7 separate regions of the Homo sapiens genome follow, and all the other regions are linked to region 1. The links are contacts of gene promoters, found by promoter capture Hi-C in blood cells and fetal thymus (Javierre and others, 2016). All regions are on one chromosome and are shown on one strand. Each heading gives the region's core, a stretch centred on a gene start or on the middle of the fragment in contact. The rest is flanking DNA. Distances are from core to core; before and after follow the strand shown. Region 1 holds the start of DLEU7 (deleted in lymphocytic leukemia 7). Region 2 overlaps SPRYD7 (SPRY domain containing 7). Region 3 has its middle 4.4 kb from the start of SPRYD7. Region 4 has its middle 22 kb from the start of SPRYD7. Region 5 has its middle 16 kb from the start of MIR3613. Region 6 overlaps DLEU2 (deleted in lymphocytic leukemia 2). Region 7 overlaps DLEU2 (deleted in lymphocytic leukemia 2).

The links. Contacts are between HindIII fragments. The CHiCAGO score rates a contact against its expected background, and 5 or more counts as called.
Region 2: a contact is called between a fragment that was not itself captured here and the fragment with the promoter of DLEU7 in region 1, in 1 of 17 cell types (naive CD4 T cells). The highest score is 5.4, in naive CD4 T cells.
Region 3: a contact is called between a fragment that was not itself captured here and the fragment with the promoter of DLEU7 in region 1, in 1 of 17 cell types (naive B cells). The highest score is 8.1, in naive B cells.
Region 4: a fragment that was not itself captured here is called in contact with the fragment with the promoter of DLEU7 in region 1 in 8 of 17 cell types (total CD8 T cells, total B cells, total CD4 T cells and 5 more); the score reaches 9.4 in total CD8 T cells.
Region 5: a contact is called between a fragment that was not itself captured here and the fragment with the promoter of DLEU7 in region 1, in 12 of 17 cell types (naive CD8 T cells, total CD4 T cells, naive B cells and 9 more). The highest score is 12.2, in naive CD8 T cells.
Region 6: a contact is called between a fragment that was not itself captured here and the fragment with the promoter of DLEU7 in region 1, in 2 of 17 cell types (naive B cells and total B cells). The highest score is 5.5, in naive B cells.
Region 7: a contact is called between a fragment that was not itself captured here and the fragment with the promoter of DLEU7 in region 1, in 1 of 17 cell types (fetal thymus). The highest score is 5.4, in fetal thymus.

The regions. Positions count from the first base shown.
Region 1 is chr13:50,842,175-50,845,215 of GRCh38, forward strand. DLEU7 (deleted in lymphocytic leukemia 7) reads right to left here and starts at 1,518. Exons shown (of 2, transcript NM_001306135.2): 1 at 1,014-1,518. The coding sequence starts at 1,472. The region is part of intron 4 of DLEU7-AS1 (DLEU7 antisense RNA 1); the gene reads left to right. RefSeq lists an enhancer at 448-1,374. The HindIII fragment of the contact is 9,888 bases long and covers 1-3,041 here.
Region 2 is chr13:49,917,655-49,920,695 of GRCh38, forward strand. All of the region lies in intron 4 of SPRYD7 (SPRY domain containing 7), which reads right to left. Among named protein-coding and RNA genes, the nearest start is that of SPRYD7, 17 kb to the right of the region's middle. The HindIII fragment of the contact is 2,530 bases long and covers 307-2,836 here.
Region 3 is chr13:49,939,228-49,942,268 of GRCh38, forward strand. No RefSeq gene overlaps it. Among named protein-coding and RNA genes, the nearest start is that of SPRYD7, 4.4 kb to the left of the region's middle. The HindIII fragment of the contact is 2,353 bases long and covers 263-2,615 here.
Region 4 is chr13:49,957,215-49,960,255 of GRCh38, forward strand. No RefSeq gene overlaps it. Among named protein-coding and RNA genes, the nearest start is that of SPRYD7, 22 kb to the left of the region's middle. The HindIII fragment of the contact is 336 bases long and covers 1,360-1,695 here.
Region 5 is chr13:49,978,809-49,981,849 of GRCh38, forward strand. No RefSeq gene overlaps it. Among named protein-coding and RNA genes, the nearest start is that of MIR3613, 16 kb to the right of the region's middle. The HindIII fragment of the contact is 4,590 bases long and covers 1-3,041 here.
Region 6 is chr13:50,028,801-50,031,841 of GRCh38, forward strand. DLEU2 (deleted in lymphocytic leukemia 2) reads right to left here. Exons shown (of 14, transcript NR_152566.1): 9 at 478-692. Among named protein-coding and RNA genes, the nearest start is that of KCNRG, 15 kb to the left of the region's middle. The HindIII fragment of the contact is 848 bases long and covers 1,170-2,017 here.
Region 7 is chr13:50,101,911-50,104,951 of GRCh38, forward strand. All of the region lies in intron 1 of DLEU2 (deleted in lymphocytic leukemia 2), which reads right to left. The region is part of intron 2 of DLEU1 (deleted in lymphocytic leukemia 1); the gene reads left to right. Among named protein-coding and RNA genes, the nearest start is that of DLEU1, 21 kb to the left of the region's middle. The HindIII fragment of the contact is 1,737 bases long and covers 566-2,302 here.

The DNA of each region.
Region 1 (3,041 bases), core at 268-2,767:
TTATTATGTTTGATTTTAAATAAATCTTTTACAGTGTATAGTGCAACTTAATGTATAGCAACTTTTTCCAAACCTTGGCTTGTACAGAATAGCAACTCTTGAGACATATTCTAAGCTCTCCTCATCACCCCTCCCCAACTCCTTCTGCTAGATGCCCCAGGGAAATAAAATACAGCAATGCTCCTGGTCAAAATCTGAAAGCCAGAATGTCTCAGAGAGATTCGTGACCTTAAACCAATTAGGTTAGTTAATGGCAAGTCCAGGACTGAAACCCAGACCCCCAGATTTCCGCAATCTCACTCAGCCTGGGAGACAGCTGCTCCCTTCCCGGGCTAAATTGGCTAACACAGTTTGGTACCTTAAGAGGAAATGTGCCCTACCTATATGAGCTGGGTGACTTAGCAAGAGTTTAGCATTTAGTATTCACGCTTTAACACCCGGGACCCACCCAGCTCTCACCCCACTTTATGAGAATGTAGGTTGACTCTGTAAGACCCCTTAGCTCTGTGGGGAATTGGATTTATGCAAAAAATAATAGTGATTCATGAATGTGAAGGAACTTTAAATAAATGTAGATGATTTCATCATACAAAAGGCAGAAGGGACTTAGTAAGTGTATTTAAGGCTCTGGAGGAAGCGTTATTAATTTGGAAAGTGGGTGGGGGGAGCTGTCCTCTATCCCTACAAGCTGCACGTGTGGAAAGGGCCTTTCTAGCGCAGGAAGCTGATTTATGTGAGAGAGGAAGGAGTTCCAGGGGGAGGTTTTGGCAAGGCAGTCCCCACATCTCGGTTGTGCCAGCCAGGCGGGCCTCAGGTGGGTCTGGGGCTCCCTGCCCCTCCTGCTGAGTCCCCAGAGTGTCCCCCGCCCCCTTCCTTCTCCCACTGGGGCTGAATCACAGTGGGCAGCAGTGTTTGGGATCCTGCGATCCACCCATCGCCATCCCAGCAGCCCCACCCTTGGAGGATGGGAGGTTACCCTGCACGCCAGAGGGGATGGCGGGGGCCAGACTCACCTTCAGGTGAATGGGAAAGGACCGCTCCTGCTGGAGGGGCCCCAGCAGCGTCTGCTCCACGCTGACCAGCTCCGAAGTCGAGTCCACCACGCGGGCCAGCGCGCTGCGCATCGCCATCTGGGCCAGGGTGCAGGGCCCGCGGTCCCGGGGGAAGGGCAGCAACTCGGCGCCCCCCTCAGCGCCTCGCACTACCTCCTCCTCTGGGGAGTTCGCCCGCGCCGCGGTCCGCCGACTCCTGGTCCCCACGCCCCCGCCCCGCTCCTCGCGCCCGGGCCCCGGCCGGGCCCGCGGCGGGCCTGAGCGACGGGCTGGAGCGGTGGACACGTGGTCTGGGTCCCGCGGGTTCCCGGGGGCGACTGGACCGTCCCCCCAGCCCCACTCCTGCTGCAGCAGCTGCAAGGTCTGCAGAGCCACCATTTGGTGGCTGATGGAGGCCACTAAGGGCGCAGGGCTGGCCATCGCCTCCGCTGGCGGCCCGGCGCGCTCCGCGTGCAGGTGGAGCAGCAGCGAGGGAGGCGGGGGCGTTGGGGTCGCCAAGGTCACATTTTCTAACCCGCGGCTCCTCGGCCTCTGGGTCTCACAGCGTGTGTGGTCGGCCCCGCCCCCGGCTCTGAATCGGTGACCCGTGCTGGCCTCTGCCTTCGCCTGAAGTCCGAATCAGGCGTGTTCTGACCCAAAGCTGCCTGAAGCGCTGCTCGGTGTGCACTTGAAAATCAGCGAAATGCTGAGCGTTGCTTCTTCCCTCTCTCCAGGGCTTTGATGAGAAAACGTGCTGCTTTGTGCGGGCGCATCCATCGGCGGGGATACCCCGCCCCCACCTCCTTCGAAGGATGCCTGCCAATGACCACTGAGGTCTGGGAGGTGGGGGTGCAAAAGACCCACTCTAGGGCAAAAGTACGAAGGGCTCTAGAAAAACTTGCAAAAGGAAGACTGTGCCTTTCCCAACCCGAGGGGAATTTTCAGAAACTTGTTGAAGCAGCCTTCAAGGCCTTGCATCCCCCAAACAAAAGAAGGAGGAGTTGTGTATCTGGAAGTTCTGCTCTTCTCTGCTTTGCTGGGTGCCACTTGAGCACCGAGAGCCTGGTGGCTGAACTAGCATCAGCAAGCCTCAAGGCCCAGGCCTGGCACTGCCCAGAAAAGCCTAAATGTTTTTTTGTGACACTCCCAAAAGACTTAGGCAGCAAGGTTGAAGTTAATCCTTTTATGAGCCATGAACTTAGGGACAGCTGTACAAATAGTTGCTGTTTTTAATTAAACCCAACATGGCTACTTCCTTAACTTAGAAAAAAGCGACTAGCAATGTTATGCTTTGATAGATTGGAAACCATGGGTGTGTGATCACACTTAAGAAAATAGAAGATATTTGAGAGGAGTGGTATGGAAAACCAGTCCGGAGCAGCATTGTTCCTGCTTGCTTTCTGCAAGGAAAACCACTAGACAACCCAACAGCCCAGTAAAGCCAGGGCAATGGTGCATGCCCACGACAGACAGGTGGGCCCTGGCAGACCTGAGGATGGAATTGCATTACTCCTTTGGGAGCCAGACTGCACCCTTGGTGCTGTGCAGATCTGGAGAGGCTTTTGAGTGAAAAGGCCACACTGGTTAGTCTGTGAGCACAAAAGGATCATCAGAAGAGATATGGAGAGGGATGTTGGGTCCTTTAAGGTTTCCTTAACCCTGGGATAGTATGACCCCATATAATCCTCCCAACTTGCCAGCAAAGGTTCCTTCTCCTTCCCAGTGCTTTCTTCGCCTATGAAAACGAATCTGAATGCCAAGGTAAAGAAAACCTTTCTTAAACAAAAACGAGTATGTTCACACTAATTATAACTAAGTAAAAATGCACGTCTGTGCATTGACAGAGAGGAAATTACTTTGGAGGGAAGTAAATAGTTTAATGTTGATTAGATTTTTTTGCCATGAAGTTACTTAAGTTCATAATAAAAAATAGAAAGAAAAAAATTTTCTTTTTAAAAAAAGTCTTCAAATGTTGAAATATATTAGGTTCAGCAGAGACTAACCAGCAAT
Region 2 (3,041 bases), core at 322-2,821, 920 kb before region 1:
TTACAAATAATGCTGAATAAAAGAAACAGTTTAGAGCATTAAACTTATTTGCTACAGTTAACTTGTATAACTGTCACTCTACTGATATTTATTTTATTTCTCAGGCTAACCTATTTCAAATATCAAGCTAAATTTCCATTTACTCAAGTAAATAAAGGAATTGCTTTTAGGCTTACCCAATATGCAACACTAAATTGAGTTTTAAAACACACATTTACATGCAAGGACACAGAAGGTAAAATGACTGAAAAGTAATTTTAGGAGAAAAGAAGGCTAATGAAAACCTTAAACTAAAAGGTAATCACAAGCTTTGGCTATTATCATATTATTATTTATATTTGTTATTGTATAATTCTGACATCCCAGTTTGTCATCATTGATACTGCTATTTTTATTTTAGTATTTTAATTTTATTTTGCTTTTGAGACAGGGTCTTACTCTGGTGCCAAGGCTGGAGTGCAGCGGCACGATGATCACTGCTCACAGGAGACTTGACCTCCCCGGCTCAAGAGATCCTCTCAGCTCAGCCTCTCAAGTAGCTGGGACTACAGGCACGTACAACCACACCTGGATAATTTTAAAATTTTTTGTCGAGACGTGTTCTCACTATGTTGCTCAAGGCTGGTCTTCAACTCCTGGACTCGAGCAACTCTTACCTCAGCCTCCCAAAGTGCTGGGATTACAGGCATGAGTCATTGCACCAGTGCTGCTTTTATAGTAAACTACAACAAATGTAATTAAATTAGTTCTTTTTTTTTTTTTTCTTTTTTTTGAGATGGAGTCTTGCTCTGTCACCCAGGCTGGAGCACAGTGGTGTGATCTCGGCTCACTGCAACCTCTGCCTCCTGGGTTCAAGTGATTCTCCGCCTCACCCTCCTGAGTAGTTGCGATTACAGGTGTGTGCCACCACACACGGTTTCACCATGTTGGCCAGGCTAGTCTTGAACTCCAGACCTCAAGTGACCCACCTGTCTTGGCCTCCCAAACTGCTGGGATTACAGGCATGAGCCACCGTGCCTGGCCTAATTAGTTATTTTTCTTTCTTTTTTAATTTTATTTTATTTTATTTTTTTTTGTGGAGACTAAGTCTTGCTCTGTCGCCCAGGCTGGAGTGCAATGGCATGATCTCGGCTCACTGCAACCTCCATCTCCTGGGTTCAAGTGATTTTCCTGTCTCAGCCTCCCATGTAACTGGGATTACAGGAGTGCGCTACCACGTCTGGCTAATTTTTTGTATTTTTAGTAGAGATGGGGTTTCACCATGTTGGCCAGGCTGGTCTCAAACTCCTGACATCAAGTGATCCACCGGCTTCGGCCTCCCAAAGTGTTGGGATTATAGGTGTGAGCCACCACGCCAGTCCTAATTAGTTCTTATTATAACCCAAATTTAAGAACTTAAATGAGAAAATATTTTTAGACTTACAAAACCAAAGGCAGAAAAATCATATACCTGTTTACTTAAAGTTGATAATACAAAATAGGCTGGACACGGTGGCTCATGCCTATAATCTCAGCACTTTGGGAGGCCGAGGTGGGCAGATCACTTGAGCTCAGGAGTTCGAGATCAGCCTGGCCAACATGGTGAAACCCCATCTCTAGTAAAAATATAAAAGTTGGCCAGGTGCTCACACCTATAATCCCAGCACTTTGGAAGGCCGAGGCGGGCAGAACAGAAGGTCAAGAGATCAAGACCATCCTGGCCAACATGGTGAAACCCCATCTCTACTAAAAATACAAAAATTAGCTGGGTGTGGTGGTGCGTGCTTGTAGTCCCATCTACTCGGGAGGCTGAGGCAGGAGAATCGCTTGAACCTGGGAGGCGGAGGTTTCAGTGAGCCAAGATCGTGCCACTGCACTCCAGTCTGGCGATGGAATGAGACTCTGTCTCAAAAAAAACAAAACAATACAAAAAAACCCCAAAAGTTAGCTGGGTGTGGTGATACACACCTGTAATCCCAGCTACTCTGGAGGCTGAGGCACGAGAATATCTTGAACCCAGGAGGCGGAGGCAGCAGTGAGCCAAGATCACAACACTGCACTCCAGTCTGGGTGACAGAGTGAGACTCTGTCTCAAAAAAAAAAAAAAAAAAAAGTTGATAGTATAAAAAATAAAGCAGAATGGATTGATAAAGACATTGTGGTTATGTTTTTCTAAAAAAAAAAAAAGAAAGAGACCTTTTTTTCGAGATACAAATAAAACATTTATGAATAAAATTATATATTACCTGGCATTTGCCTCAAAATAACCCAAGGAGGGTAAGTGAAGAACAATAGCAGCATTGGGGGTGGGGGGGTGTAGATGAAACCCGATTGGTTACAAGTTGATAATTGTTTGAAGCTGGCTGATGGGTATATGAGGGTTTATTATACTATTCTTTTTACTTCTGTACATGTTTGGAATTTTCTATAATAAAAATTAAGGTAGGCCGGATGCAGTGGTTCATGCCTGTAATCCCAATAGTGGTGCACACTTGTAGTCCCAGCTACTGGGGTGGCTGAGGTGGGAGGATTGCTTGAACCCAGGAGTTTGAGGCTGCAGTGAGCTGTGATCGGGCCACTGCACTCCAGCCTGGGGGACACAGCAAGACTCTGTCGCAAAACAAAACAAAACAAAACAAAACAAAACAAAAAAACAAAAAATTAAAGTTAAAATTAAAATTCTAAGTCACTATTTCCCTCAGAAGAGCATTAACATTTAAGGAATTTTGTAAGGGTTATTAATGTACAGTCTACATAAAATTCCCATCTCTAATTCCAAAATATTATTTATAATTATGTTTCCTGGCCATGCAATCATTCCCAATGACTTGCAGAAAAAGTTTTCTAAATTCAGTAAAGCTTTTTGAAACTTTCTAAAACATAAAACTACATGTTGAAAAAGGGAGTACGGTTATTGCATATTTAAGTGTAATCATTGTATTTAGCAAGTTTATTTTAATACATGGGGAACAGAAACTATCCTTAATCCTGCAAAGTGGGATTGTAATATCCTACCGACTACAATCCATATAAAAAGGTCCTTATGGCTGGGCACGGTGACT
Region 3 (3,041 bases), core at 189-2,688, 900 kb before region 1:
TCTAATATCTGGGATTCTAATATCCATTCATTATTACTTTCAAAGGAATTATCCTCTCTTTTTGAAAAGCACAACGTTAAAGATGTTTTGACACTCTTTCACAGCTATCGCTTTAAATAACAATCACAAATAAAGCCAAAAATAGTTTCTCAAGGTCATTTATCTAAGTCATAAGCAATAAGAAAGAATGACTACTTCAAAAAAAGAGTCTGTCTGCTTCCAAGACATGCCAGGAACTCGAGAACTGAGAACAATAATGTAAAGCTTGTGTTTCAGAGTTGAGATTAGCATTATGCTTAAGATTTTCTTTAATGTTTTTTATGCCAGCTGGACGTCTTCTGTTAGTGAATTTCCCATTCTGTACTGGGTCATACGAAATGAGTTTTTAAAAACTCATTAATCAGTTATTAAACAAAACATTTTTCCTTAGACTAATCCAAACCACATTTGTGATCTTTTTAAAAATCAGAAACATTAACAAAAACTCATTTTTCTAAAAACTGACATATTTCTGGAGCCTTGACCAATTCATTATTATAATTTTGAGTAACTAATAGTGATTGACATTTATGTAGTGCTTATTATTGCCAGGCACTGTTCTAAGTGTTTTTTAAAAATAAACTAATTTAGTCTTTGTAACAACCATGTGAGGGAAAAACTATCCTCCACTTTACAGATGAGGAAGCTGAAGAAAAAATAAGAAATGTACTCAAAAGTTGCACAGTCAATGAAGGATGAAGCTAAATTCAAACAGACATTCTGGCTCTAGGGTCTGTGTTCTTAACCACTCTGCAAACTGCCTCCTAGGGTGTTACATTTAAAAATACATTCCTAGGTCTGGTGCGGTGGTTCACGCCTGTAATCCCAGCACTTTGGGAGGCCGAGGGATATGGACTGCCTGAGCTCAGGAGTTCGAAACCAGCCTGGGCAACATGGTGAAACCCTGTCTCTACTAAAAACAAACAAAAAAATTAGCCGGGCATGGCAGTGTGTGCCTGTAATCCCAGCTACTTGGGAGGCTGAGGCAGGAGAATCGCTTGAACCCAGAGGCGGAGGTTGCAGTGAACCAAGATCGTGCCATTGCACTCCAGCCTGGGTGACAGAGCAAGACTCTATCTCAAAAAAAAAATAAAAAAATAAAAAATGAATATACATTCCTAATTTGTATTTGTCTCCTTCTATCCCCTTTCCTCAGAGACTGACATTTAAATTTACTTGGCATGAATTGTGCTCATTTAATCTGGATTTCCTGAATTATAAGTTATATTACCTAGATTGAACAACCAAAAATAAATAAGGAAAATAACGTCAACCTTGTAACTGCAACAGACTGCCATTAGTTGGTTCTCTTAGCGGTGCCTTTGAATATTAATATTTTGCAGGTTTGTCCTTAACAGGCTGTCTCTACCGGAAAAAAAAAACGATATTTAGTACTTTTTTTCTTCTTTTTCTTTTTTTGAGACAGGGTCTCACTCTGTTGCCCAGACTGGAGTGCAGTGGCACCACCACGCCTGGCTAATTTTTTGTGTTTTTTATAGAGATGGGGTTTCACCATGTTGCCCAGGCTGGTCTTGAACTCCTAGGCTCAAGGGATCCACTCACCTTGGCCTCCCGAAGCGCTGGGATTATAGGCATGAGCCACCCTGCCTGGCCTGTTTAGTACTTTTTTTTTTTTTTTGAGACAGAGTCTTACTCTTGTCGCCCAGGCTGGAGTGCAATGGTGCGATCTCAGTTCACTGCAGCCTCTGTCTCCTGGGATCAATCGATTCTTCTGCCTCAGCCTCCTGAGTAGCTGGGATTACCGACGCCCGCCACCACAACCAGCTAATTTTTGTATTTTTAGTAGAAACGCACTTTGGGAGGCTGAGGAGGGCGAATCACCTGAAGTCAGGAGTTTGAGACCAGCCTGGTCAACATAGTACTTTTAATTGCTAAGACAGGTAAACCAGGTTGGAGACTTGGAAAATGCAGAGACTTGGCATTAGGAAGAAAAAGAAGCTGGGGTAAAATAAAGGAATTTGAAAAAGGTACAAAAGAAATAAAAATAGAACAATTTTTTTAATATTTAAAATGAAGAAAAAGCAATAGCAAGTGCTACATAAAAAAGGTCTCAGAGAATAGAAAATGTGATTTACCAAAAACTTTCAACCTAGAACTGTACCTTATTCTGCTTACCTTCCATGGAAAATAAAGCAGACTGTCATAAACCAAGGGGATTTCTGTGATCCCTGCCCAACCTCAAGTTCCCTTACTCGAAATGCAAGTACCCTAGTGTATTTCTAAGTACTTTTCCTTGCCAATTTAGATTCTAAGTACTACTGTGGCAATAATTAGCGAAAATAGATACTGAGGATACAAAAGGGAGACAAAGCAAAGGTCAAAACCAAAGTAGTTTTTTGCATTTTCAAAAGAAATAAAGGAAGATGAGGACAAGTAAAGTTCGTCCTTGGATCTATGCTCCTTATTAACAGGAGGGCATTTAAACCTGTGACTTTGTAGAAAGGGCTGATGAGAAGTGTGTACAAAGTTTTCATGGCCAAAGATAAGGCTACATAATCTGGTATTATGGGAGAAAGGCTGGAGAACACTTAGCTGTGCCAAATAGTTCAAATAAAAGCTTCCCAAAGCATCTCAAGCATTCAAGTGATTCTGTGTCTTTGAAGTACAGTAGGGGTCAAGGAGCAAGAAGTCACCATCTCCAGATTATAAAGTGAAAAAGTACTCGACATTTGCAGAAAGGACCAGACAGAAGAAAAAAACACTTCTGGGTATATATAATATCTGCAACCAAACAAAATTATAAATATTTTGTTGAAATTGTGAGAAAGACCCTAAAATATTTCTAGTAACAAGGAAGGTCACATGGATTATTAAAATGTACCCAACATTACTAATTTAGGATAGATACAATGCCATTTAGTCTCTATAATTTTATTTTTGTGAATGTAAAAATATTTATAAAGTTTTTCAAAAGGCTCCACCTATAGTGACAATCCCTTCAAACCTATTTTCTCAATAATGGCCCTGCAGATGAATATCCC
Region 4 (3,041 bases), core at 278-2,777, 880 kb before region 1:
CTCTTGAACTCTTTAAACTATAAACTTTATATTCCTAGAACGTTCCTCTGTTGACCACATACCTACCTTTCACACACCATCACTGGTAGGGAGGATTGGTGAGAGGCTCTCCTCTTTACACAAGGAATGTCCGTTATTTGACCAGCAGAGCTTAAGATCAACCAGGGAGATCATGATGTCATCAAGTTAATAGGAAGCAGGAGAGGATATTGATTAAAAGGGCTGACTGACATTGTAGAGGCATGGTCTCAAAAGCCTTCAAGGGAGATAGGCACTGCCACTCCTGAAGGATTGCCTGACATGAGGTGCAGAGCCTGTGTGTTGTGGGGTGACTGCATTGAGTGTCAGTGACATGAGGTACATGGGGTGCTGTAGGATACACAGATCCACACACATGGCTCAAGCTCAAGGGTTGATAGTGAACCACAGGTAGCCCAGAGCCAAGAGTTATTAAAAATCAGCATGTTATCACCATTTGACAACCCAATCTTGCACAATCTCTGGAAAGAAATACTGTGCCAACAGGAGCAATTCACTTTCCAGGTCTCCTTTTTGGATTCCAGCTCTGATTTTTGTATCTTCTCAGGGCATCTGGTCCATCCCAAGTATGGGATAGAGGGTTGTAGATTACCCCAAAAGGAAAAAGCAGAAACTAGGACACACACAGGTCCCAGTGTGGGATGGGGGCACCTCACGTGGATGGATCTGATAGCCCTTGTCAGTCCCAGGGATCAGAGGGAGACTCAGAAAACTGTGAGGAAGATACCCCAAAATACAGGGCCCCCTGGAACAAGGAAGCCAGGGAAGAGTGCCCTGCTGCCTAGATTGAAGGGCTGAAGTAATTTTAGGGCAACAAAGTTGATGATAGAAAGTTCTCTATTACTGAAGAATTCTAGTGGTTAAAGGAACTAATGAAATAATGGATCATTAATGTATGGTAAAACTATAACCTGAATAAGCCTAGTATCACTAAAAGTGGAAAACCTGACATTGTGTCTCCTAATGTGATGCAATAAGAAAACAGCACCACTTGCAAAGTATTCCTGCCTTAAAAGCTGAACCTGAATCTGATGAAATTTCTATATTTATTTTTCAGTCTATAAAAAATATGGGGGTAAAGAACAAGTTAAATAACTGTTAGAGTGCAGTCAGCTAAATACAGAATGTGGGACTGTCAAGAGCTGTGCAAGGCCTGGGATTTTGCCCCACTTATAAACTAACAAGTTAGCCTGTTTTGGTTTCATGGATGCTGGCAGGAGACAGAAGATTCCTGAGTCAGAGACAAAGGATTTTATTGCCCACAGCAAAAGTAGTATTCAGAACTTCGTGTTTGTTTGTGTCAGTCTCCATGCCCCACAAAGCTTATTGGAAGTGACACAAAGGGCTCGTGATGGATGCCTTAGAATGTAGTTGGTTGCATTAGAGGAAAGAAACACTGAGTTTGGGGCATTCATTGTTTTTAAGGCAAGTGGAAGCCAGCCTGCTGTTTCGGGGAGATATTACCCCATCCTTCAGGTTTGCTTGCTGCAAACACAATCTTGAGAAATGGCCCTGGTAAAGAATGGTCAGGGCTTTGCATTCTTGGTATGCCTAGCAAAAATATATGGGGATACTCAAGGCCAGTGACAGATTGCCTGTTGGAAAAATACACCCCTTAGCCCAATATGTTCTTGACCAAACTTGAGTTTTTACACAAGCTTGCCACTCCATCAGCCACTCTGACTAATATGACCAGAGAGGTTGGGAGCAAAACCATTTCATTTGTCTCTCCTAGGAGTTTTATAGTTTCAGGTCTTATGTTCAGGCCTTTAACACATTTTGAATTAATTTTTGTACATGGTGTAAAGTCATTTTTTAAAATTTGGACGTAATCAGTTTTCCCAACATCATTTGTTGAAGAGACTAGTCTCTCCCCCATTTTGTGGCCTTGGCACCCTCGTCAAATATCATTTGACAATATATGTGAGGGCTTATTTCTGGGCTAATTCTTCTGTTCCATTGGTCTGTGTGTCTGTCTTTATGTCAGTATAATACTATTTTGATTACTGTAGCTTTGTGATATCTTTCAAAATAGGAAGTATGAGACCTCCAGCTTTGTTTTTCTTCCTAAAGATTTTTTTGGCTATATGGGATTCTTTGAGACTTTATATGCATTTCAGGGTTTTTAAATTTTTTCTGCAAAAACAAAAAGCCATTGGAATTTTGATGGGAATTGCATTTAATTTATAGATCACTTTGGGTAGTATTGTTATTTTAACAATATTAAGCCTTCCAATCCATGAACATGGGATGTCTTTCCATTTATTTGTATCTTCTTAAATTTTTTAAAGTGATGTTTTGTAGCAGTGATACAAGAAACAGGAGGGATGAATTAATGATATTTTATTATTACAAGATATACTACCCATGATGTAGTACAGTGTTATTTGAAAGTGGACTTGCATTAATTATAAATGTATACTGCAAACTCTAGGGCAACCACTAAAGAAAGTAAAAAAAGAAGTATAAGTGACATGCCAGGAAGGAAGAGAACATGGAATCATATAAAGTGCTCAATTAAAACCACAAAAAGCAGAAAAACAGTGGAAAACAAAAACAGGAATAAAAAACAAGGGCAACAAATAGAAAGCAGTAACAAATATGATATATTAATCCAACTATATCTATAATGACTGTAAATGTTAATGATCTAAATTTTACTAAGACAAAGATTGAGTAGATCTAAAAACAAGACCTAACTATATGTTGTCTACAAGAAACACATTTTATCCCAGGCACAATGGCTCACGCCTGTAATCTCAACACTTTGGGAGGCCAAGGTGGGCAGGTTACAAGGTCAGGAGTTTGAAACCAGCCTGGCCAACATGGTGAAACCCCATCTCTACTAAAAATACAAAAATTATCCAGGCGTGGTGGTGTGCACCTGTAATCCCAGCTTTTCAGAAGGCTGAGGCAGGAGAATTGCATGAACCTGGGAGGCGGAGGCTGCAGTGAGCCAAGATCACACCATTGCACTCCCGCCTGGGTAAAAGAGCGAGACT
Region 5 (3,041 bases), core at 207-2,706, 860 kb before region 1:
CAGAAGCAAGGGTGTCTTCTAGACTTCAGAATAGAGAAAGTTGAACAACAGAGACCATGTACCAGAGAGTCATCTATGGGCAAATTCGTTCGGAGGAAGTCCTTCTAGCTCCAGTTCAAATTCAAGGTTGTCTTTGCAGATTCCCAGGTAGTAAAAGGATTTTAGGAGTTCAATTATTGGGCAAGGAGGGGAAAGGATCCCAGATTTAAGGACCCCTCATCAATATCCATTGGGGCTGGGAAGAAGAGTGGCTGGTTTTCCATTAGGTAGGGGGCCCAGATCACTAATAATCAGGGCGATCTGGTGAGGCAGAAGATGCCAGCAAGAAATGCCCTGGAGGGCCTGAAGCAGCTGCTGAATTCCCCATGAGCAGCTTTTCACATGCTACCTGAAGGCAGCCACTGGGAGGTTTTGAAAGAAGATACTAAGTGACTCCGCACTAGCACTTGCCACACTAGATAACCTGGTGAGAGAAGCTGCTAATTGTAATAGAGGCAGAATGTTATCTGTACTGTTTAAAACAAGTTTTCCAGGGGGAAATGAGGACAGGCCAATGCAGCCAGAAAGCACTGGGTGTTGGCTTTGCAGAAAGCTGTTAGGAACAGGGTTGCCAGGTGTCCTGTTTTGAACTGGACAGCATGGTATTTTAGCTTCTAGTGTACGAAAATGCAGTAAATGCCTGTTTTTTAAAAAAGTCATTGTTGCGGCGGGGCGCGGTGGCTTACCCCTGCAATCCCAGCACTTTGGGAGGCCAAGGTGGGCGGATCACCTAAGGTCAGGAGTTCAAGACCACCCTGACCAACATGGAGAAACCCTGTCTCTACTAAAAATACAAAAAAAAAAAAAAAAAAAAAAAAAAAAAAAAGCCAGGAATGGTGGTGCATGCCTGTAATCCCAGTTACTCAGGAGGCTGAGGCAGGAGAATCACTTGAACCCAGGATGCAGAGGTTGTGGTGAGCTGAGATTATGCCATTGCACTCCAGCCTGGGCAACAAGTGCGAAACTCCATCTAAAAAAAAAAAATCGTTATTATGGCCAGGCGCGGGGGCTCATGCCTGTAATCCTGGCACTTTGGGAGGCTGAGGTGGGTGGATCATGAGGTCAAGAAATCGAGACCATCCTGTCCAACATGGTGAAACCCTGTCTCCACTAAAAATACAAAAATTAGTTGGGCATGGTGCCACGGTGCCTGTAGTCCCAGCTACTCGGGAGGCTGAGTCAGGAGAATCGCTTGAACCTGGGAGGTGGAGGTTGCAGTGAGCCAAGATCGTGCTACTGCACTCCTGCCTGGTGACAAGAGCGAGACTCCGTCTCAAAAAAAAAAAAAAAAATCATTATTATTTCACATGTGCTTTATATCTTATGTTTTGATTTATTTTTAATCAGCAGGGGTTTGTAATTTCAGCTTTTAGTTACTCCTGCTATTAAGTATTGAATGGACAAACACTACTTAAAACAGTGTTACACTTCTTTTGAAATATGAGGAATCCTTTTATTTATCTGTGTGCAAATAACATGTTTCAACACTACTGTTAAGTATTCTGTTAAAGTACAAGTCTATCCCTTAGGAGGGGAGGGTACACTCTACAAGAAGTTTTTTTCCCCAGTCTCTATGGGGTGGTTATTTCTGTAATCCTATTTATGGATGAAGCAGGGGAAATACAGTCATCACTGGGGCAATGATAAGAGCTACTGTGCACTGAGGGTTTACCATGTGCCTGTCAGTATGGGCAGTCTATATCCTCTACCTCCTTCCTCACAGAGATCCCATGGTGGGGGGGCCCAGTTACCCTCATTTTACAGAACAGTAAACAGGCTCAGGGAGATTCAGTATTGAGGCCCCAAGCCTGGAAGTTATCCTCCATTTCTCTTTTCCTCTTTGGCCCCTCCTCCAATTTATTAACAAGTTCTGTCAGCTATAACTCCAAAATATATTTTTAAAATATGACCTTTTTTCCTACCCTAGCTCAAGTCCTCATTATCTTTCTTGCTTAGATGTCGCATTAGCCTCCAAACTGTCCCCCGGGGCCACTCTTACCCTTAGTACCATCTTCCTTCCACACAATGGGCAGGGTGGGTTTTTTTAGTTGTTGTTGTTTGTTTGTTTTTTGAGACAGGGTCTAAGTCTATTGCCCAGGCTGCAGTGCAGTGGTGTGGTCATAGCTCATTGCAGCTTCAATCTCCTGGGCTCAAGTGGTCCTCTCACTTTAGCCTTTCAAGCAGCTTAGGCTACAGGTGCATACCACCACACCTGGCTAATTTTTAATTTTTTGTAGAGATGCAGTCCCGCTATGTTTCCTAGGCTGGTTTTTTGTTTTGTTTTGTTTTGTTTTCTGAGATGGAGTCTTGCTCTTTTGCCCAGGCTGGAGTGCAGTGGTGTGATCTTGGCTCACTGCAACCTCTGCCTCCCGGGTTCAAGTGATTTTCCTGCTTCAGCCTCCTGAGTAGCTGGGACTACCAGCGCCCACCACTATGCCTGGCTAATTTTTGTATTTTTAGTAGAGTTGGGGTTTCACCATGTTGCCCAGGCTGGTCTCGAACTTCTGACCTCAGGTGATCTGCCCACCTTGGCCTCCCAAAGTGCTGGGATTACAGGTGTGAGCCACCGTGCATGGCTGCTAGGCTGGCCTTGAACTACTGGCCTATAGTGATCCTCCTGCCTCAGTCTCCCATAGCGTTGAAATTACAGGCATGAGCCACCACTCCTAGCCCAGAGTGATCTTTCTAAACTGTATATCAGATGATGTGCTCTCCAATGGCTTCTCTTCATATTTAAAATAAAACCCAAAGTCTTTTCCAGGACTTACAAGGCCGTACCTGATCTGGCTCCCCATTGCTGCATGCAAACTCTTCATTCATTCATTCAACTAATATTTACTGAGGGCCTGCCATGTGCCAGACACTCTTATAGCTGCTAGCATATTGCTTCTGTACAGAGCTCACATTCTAGTGGGAGGAGACAGTAATCAAAGAAATACAAAGTATGTCAGGTGGCGATAAGTGGCATGGAGAAAAATGAAGCAGGAAAGGAGACCAGGGAG
Region 6 (3,041 bases), core at 344-2,843, 810 kb before region 1:
AAAGTCAATCTTACTTAAGGCAAAAAATATCCTAGATATAGCATTTTGCCTAGGCAACTCTTTCCTCTCAAGATTTCTCACCTGATTTGCTGAGTTAAAAGCCACAGACTCCCAATTATTTAGGGTAAACTTATTTATGCCTAGGTTTCCTTCCAGTATTTCTTACAAGTTTTTTGTTTTTTTTTCTTCAAAGCAACACACCATGGCTCTTGAAGGGCTGCAGGCAATCTGAATACCCTTGTTTTCTTTGATTAGAAATGAGGGTAAATTATGCAAAGGAAGGAAAACAATCTCAAACATGATTATACTCATTTCCCTACCAATTCCCTAGTATCTACTCTTTGCCTTCATTATACTGTATCTACTTTACTCCTTGCTACTTCATCATGTCTTGGTTCATGTTGTTTTCTGCACTCGCAAGTTATCATTCCTTCATTTCACATAATCAATCTTAACCACTTTTTCAGCCCAGCTCACCTTTCATATCCTCTTATAAGTCTTCTCTGATAAGTTTAAGTCCACATTTCCTTCAAGCTTCTACCACACTTAAGTTAGCAAGCCAGAGTTTACATTCCATTATTCTCTACTTGTTTCTTGTATGTTAGTATAATATTCTCATACAGGTTACAGTTCTTTGCTGACAGGGACCATCTTTTATAAACTATAGTGAAGTACCGCACCTAGAGTAGGCCCTTAATAATAAAGATAATGTCACTTTAAAAATGCAAGCAGGAAACGCTTCAGGCATTTAAAAGTAGTATTTTAACAATAACTATTTTTGATTAAATAAAACTATATTCATTCTTCTTTTCAGAACTTGAAGCCTCAAATTATCACCTCAGATCATCATGCTATTAAAAAGTAGATGTGCATATGAATAAAACTGTCCAACTCTATCACTTATACACAACACAGCCATGAACAAAAGCAGCAGCCATTCTTGATAATCCAATCCCCTCTGAAACAAACAATTTCTGGCAGTAGGAGACATTTACAAATACATAGCCTTGCTAACAACCACTAGGTTATAACGGAAAAGGTTTGTAATTTGAATCCTTTAGAGTGTGCATCTTTCAAATGTGTAGTGAAATCATAAATACAATGTAATTTTGTTCAGTTTGGAATGAAGTGAAATTTTGCTTAAAGGAAATGAAGATTATTCAAGTTGAAGCTTTAGTTAACCTGCATTAGTCACTAGCATTCTACTTCCAAAAAAAAAAAAAAAAGTCAATCTTAGGAAAAATTGCAATCAAACATCAAACATCCTTGGCTTAAAACACATTCAGCACAATTTTTAAAACCTCTATACCTACATTACAGAATATAGTAGTTCACCCTTATTCACAGGAGATACCTTCCAAGACCCCTAGTAAATGCCTGAAACTGTGGATAGTATGTAACTTTATATATATATACTATGTGCTTTCCTAAAAATATATATGATAAAGTTTTATTTGTAAATTAGGTACAGTAAGATTAACAAGAATAATAGTAAAATAAAACAATTTAACAAAATGCAAGCATCACTACTCTTGTGGTTTGGGGCCATTATGAATTAAATAAGGATTATGAATTAAATAAGGATTATATGAACACAAGCACTGTAATCCTGGGGCAGTGGGTCTGATAACCATGATGGCTACTAAGTAACTAACAGGCAGATAGTATCTACGGCATAGAAACAATGGACAAAGGGATGACTGCGATCCTAGGCAAGATGGTGCAAGATTTCATCATGCTACTCAGAATGACACACAATTTGAAACTTAAACGTTGTTTATTTCTGGAGTTTTCCATTTAATATTTCCAGACTTCAGTTGACTGTGTGTAACTACATGGAAAATGGGAGACACTACTGTATTACATAAGACTTGATAATAAGGTATGTCTTTATTTATAAAATGTAATGATATTCAGCATATACTTTATTAAGGCAAGAAAATATATTGAAATATTACCATTTTTATTAATGTTTTAGAAAATATTCAAACAAGGTTTAAAATGATTATACTCCAGAAGCTTTACAGGTGTTAAATAAAATTTTTTTAAAAACTAGGCCAGGTGCAGTGGCTGATGCCTGTAATCCCAGCACTTTGGAGGGCCGAGGCGGGCGGGTCACCTGAGGTCAGGAGTTCGAGACCAGCCTGGCCAACATGGTGAAACCCCGTCTCTATAAAAATAACAAAAAAACGGCCGGGCGCGGTGGTTCATGCCTGTAATCCCAGCACTTTGGGAGGTTGAGACGGGCAGATCACAAGGTCAGGATGGTCTCAAGGTCAGGAGATTGAGACCATCTTGGCTAACACGGTGAAACCCCGTCTCTACTAAAAATACAAAAAATTAGCCAGGTGTGGTAATGGGTGCCTGTAGTTCCAGGTACTCGGGAGGCTGAAGCAGGAGAATGGCGTGAACCCAGGAGACGGAGCTTGCAGTGAGCCAAGATCACGCCACTGCACTCCAGCCTGGGCGACAGAGCAAGACTCTGTCTCAAAAAGAAAAAAAAAAAAAAAATCAGCTGGGTGTGGTGGTGCACGCATGTAATCCCAGCTACTCAGGAAGCTGAGACATGAGAATCGCTTGGTCCAGGGAGGCGGAGGTTGCAGTAAGCTGAGATCGCGCCACTGCATTCCAGCCTGGTAACAGAGTGAGACTCTGTCTCAAAATAAGTAAATAAATAAAAATAAAATAAAAGTGATTGTAAACTTCAATTAACAGAATCATCCAGAACTCCAGATTGCCCCATTGATTCAATTAAATTTTTGTCTGATAAAACTTTTAGAAATTCTTTTTCTTTTTTTTCATTTGCATTGCCTTTCCTTTAACAACTTCCAGTGGGGGTAGTTTTCCTTTTTGTTAATCACGTCTCACACAGTCAAGGTGTCGATCTGACAAAGAGTAAGAGAAATGAAATCTAACATAGTTTCTATAAATGGTAAAGTTAAACACAATTTCCAGAACTCTAAGATGATGTTGAATTTTCCACATAAATCTATGAGATTATATTTAATTTTTCCCATCTGCTATTTTAAGTAATATGTCAG
Region 7 (3,041 bases), core at 184-2,683, 740 kb before region 1:
TTGGAAACAAAATAACATGCTACTAAATAACCTTCTAATAACCCATTGATTAAAATAGGAGTGCAGTAAAATTAGAAGGCATTTTGAGCTGAATGAAAATGAAAACAAAGCATATCAAATTTTGTGGCATGCCACTAAAGCAGTATGTAGGAAGACATAAGCAAAATGCTTATATTAGAAAATATAAAAAGTCTCAAGTTAATGAGCTTCCACCTTAAGAAATTAGAAAAGAAGAACAAATTAAACACAAAGAAACAAAAGAAATAATAAAGATCAAAGTAGAAATAAATGAAATGGAAAACAAAATAAATTGAGAGTATTAATGAAACCAAACCCTGGTTCTTTGAGATAAATAAAATTGATAAATCTTTTGCCACGCTGATCAGGAAAAAAAAAAAAAAAAGAGAGAAGACACATATTACCAATATCAGGAATGAGAGGTGAAATATGACAAATTCTACAGATACTTAAAGAATAGCAAGGGAATATTATGAAAAACCTTAAGCAAATAAAATTCAACAACTTAGATGAAATGGTCAAATTCCTTGAAAGACATAACTACCAAAGCTTACTCAAAAAGAAGTACAGCCAGGTGCAGTGGCTCACACCTGTAATCCCAGCATTTTGGGAGTTTGAGGTGGGCAGATCACTTAAGTCCAGGAGTTCGAGACCAGCCTGGGCAATGTGAAGAAACCCCATCTCTACTAAAAATACAAAAAAATTTAGCTGGGTGTGGTGGTGCATGACTGTAGTCCCAGCTACTTGGGGGGCTAAGGCGGGAGGATCGCTTGAGCTTGCGAGATTGAGCCCTGATTATGCCACTGCATTCCAGCCTGGGTGAAAGAGTGAGACCCTGTCTCAAAAAAAAAAAAAAAAAGAAAAAAAAGAAAAAAAAAAGAAAAAAAAGAAAAAAAAAAGAAAAAGAAATAGATAACTTCCAAAGCTATGTATCTATTTTTAAAAAATTAATAGTTAAAAATATTCTCACAAAGAAACACTAGTGGATTCTTCCAGACACTTAGGGATAACACTGTGTATACCAATTATATACAAATCTTCCAGAAAACTGAAGAGGAAGGAATACGTCTCAGTTTATTTTTGGGGGCCAGCATTACCCTGATACCTAAACCACACAAAGCCATTACAAGAAAAGAAAACTATAGCCCAGTTTCCCTCTTGAACATGGATGTAATAATTCTCAACGAAACTTTAACAAGTCAAATCCAACAAAATATAAGAAAGTTAATATTACTGGATGAGGTTTATCCCAAAAATATGTCATTGCTTTAAATTAAAAAATTAATCATTGTAAGTCACTATATTAAGCTAAAAAAGAAAATCTGATCATTTCAATAGACACCCAAAAAATCTGACAAAATCGTATATTTGTTCCTGATTTTAAAAAACCAAAAACAAAAAAAACAAAAAAAACAAAAAAAAAACCAAACCTGTTAGCAAACTAGGAATAGAAGGGTACTTTCTCAACCAGATAAAGGACATCTATAAAAATCCTACAGATAGCCTTATGCATAATGATGAAAAACTGCATGCTTTCCCTTTCCCCGTAAGATAAAGAATAATACAAAGATATCTGCTCTGACCACTTTCATTCAACATCAGAGGTTCTGTCCAGGGCAATCAGGCAAGAAAAAGAAATAAATCGCATTCAAGTTAGAAAGGAAGAAATACAACTGATGATAGCCATCATTCCTAAGAGTTCCCCTTGCCTCTTTATAATCCTTGCCTCCTCTTACCTCTCTCCCCAGGAAACCACTGGCCTGTTTTCTGTCACTAGAGACCAGTTTGCATTTTCTAGAACTGATATATGTGGAATCATGCAGTATGTTACTCAATTTTTTTTGTCAGTAATTGGTAGCTTATCTTGCAATCAAAGTTCATATACAACCATTTGATCTTCATTCCATTCCCTCATTAGTCCATAGAATGTCAATCAATTTTTCTTTCTTTTATTTATTTATTTTAACGAAACAGGGTCTTGTTGTGTTGCCTAGGCTGGAGTGCAGGCTTACTTCAACCTCCAACTCCTGGGCTCAGGTGATCCTCCCGCCTAAGCCTCCAGAGTAGCTGGGACTACAAGGGTGTGTCACCATGCCTGGCTAACTTTTTAAAATTTTTTGTATTGATGGGGTCTTGCCATGTTGCCCAGGCTGGTCTCGAACTCCTGAGCTCAAGACCTCCCAAAGTGCTGGGATTACAGGCATGAGCCACTGCGCCTGGACTCAATTTCTGTATGATGATGACTTTCATATGTACATCAACAGGCCAGATAGCTTATCAAGAAAGCTTCTCCTCTGTCTTCTAGTAATATCCCACTTAGATCTGACATTATTTTTTTCCTTCAAGGTATTTCTTCCAAATTTCTTGGCTGTTGTTGGTGACAACACAAGTTTTTGGACCTTTAAGTTTACAATCTTAGGTTCATTTCCTTATTTTATTTCTTCCCTATAGGTAAATGATCACTAAACTTGTTACTTCTTATAGTTACTTCTTTGTAAGGCACTGCAGATATGTTTCTTTTCATTTTTAAAATTGCCCATTTAATTCAAGCTATTAAATATCAAGCTTGTACTATATCAAGAGTACTATATATCAAGACTATAGCCTCTTGATATTTTCCCTACCCTCCCATCCTGCCATACCCATGTCTCCACTAGCCTATATAAAACATAAAATACTTTTCATCAAACTCTCTGTAGAGAAGTGTTGCTGGGCGAATAAGAAAAACCTGATTGACTAGAAAGCAAATGTAAATGTAATCTCCTTTCTTTTCAGTGATTCTACCAGAAAGGAATGAAGAACAGAACCTTCAGGAATTGAGTCACAATGCAGACAAATATCAAATGGGAGATTGTTGCAAGGAAGAGATTGATGATAGTATTTTCTACTAGCCATTGGGAAGATAAAAGGAGACAGAAGATTGAAGCCTTTGCCAGCCATTCTTTCCCTTTTTGCTTCCAAACTCCTCAACTGGGAACCTTCATATGTGCAGTATTTATATTGGATCATACTGGTGATTATAA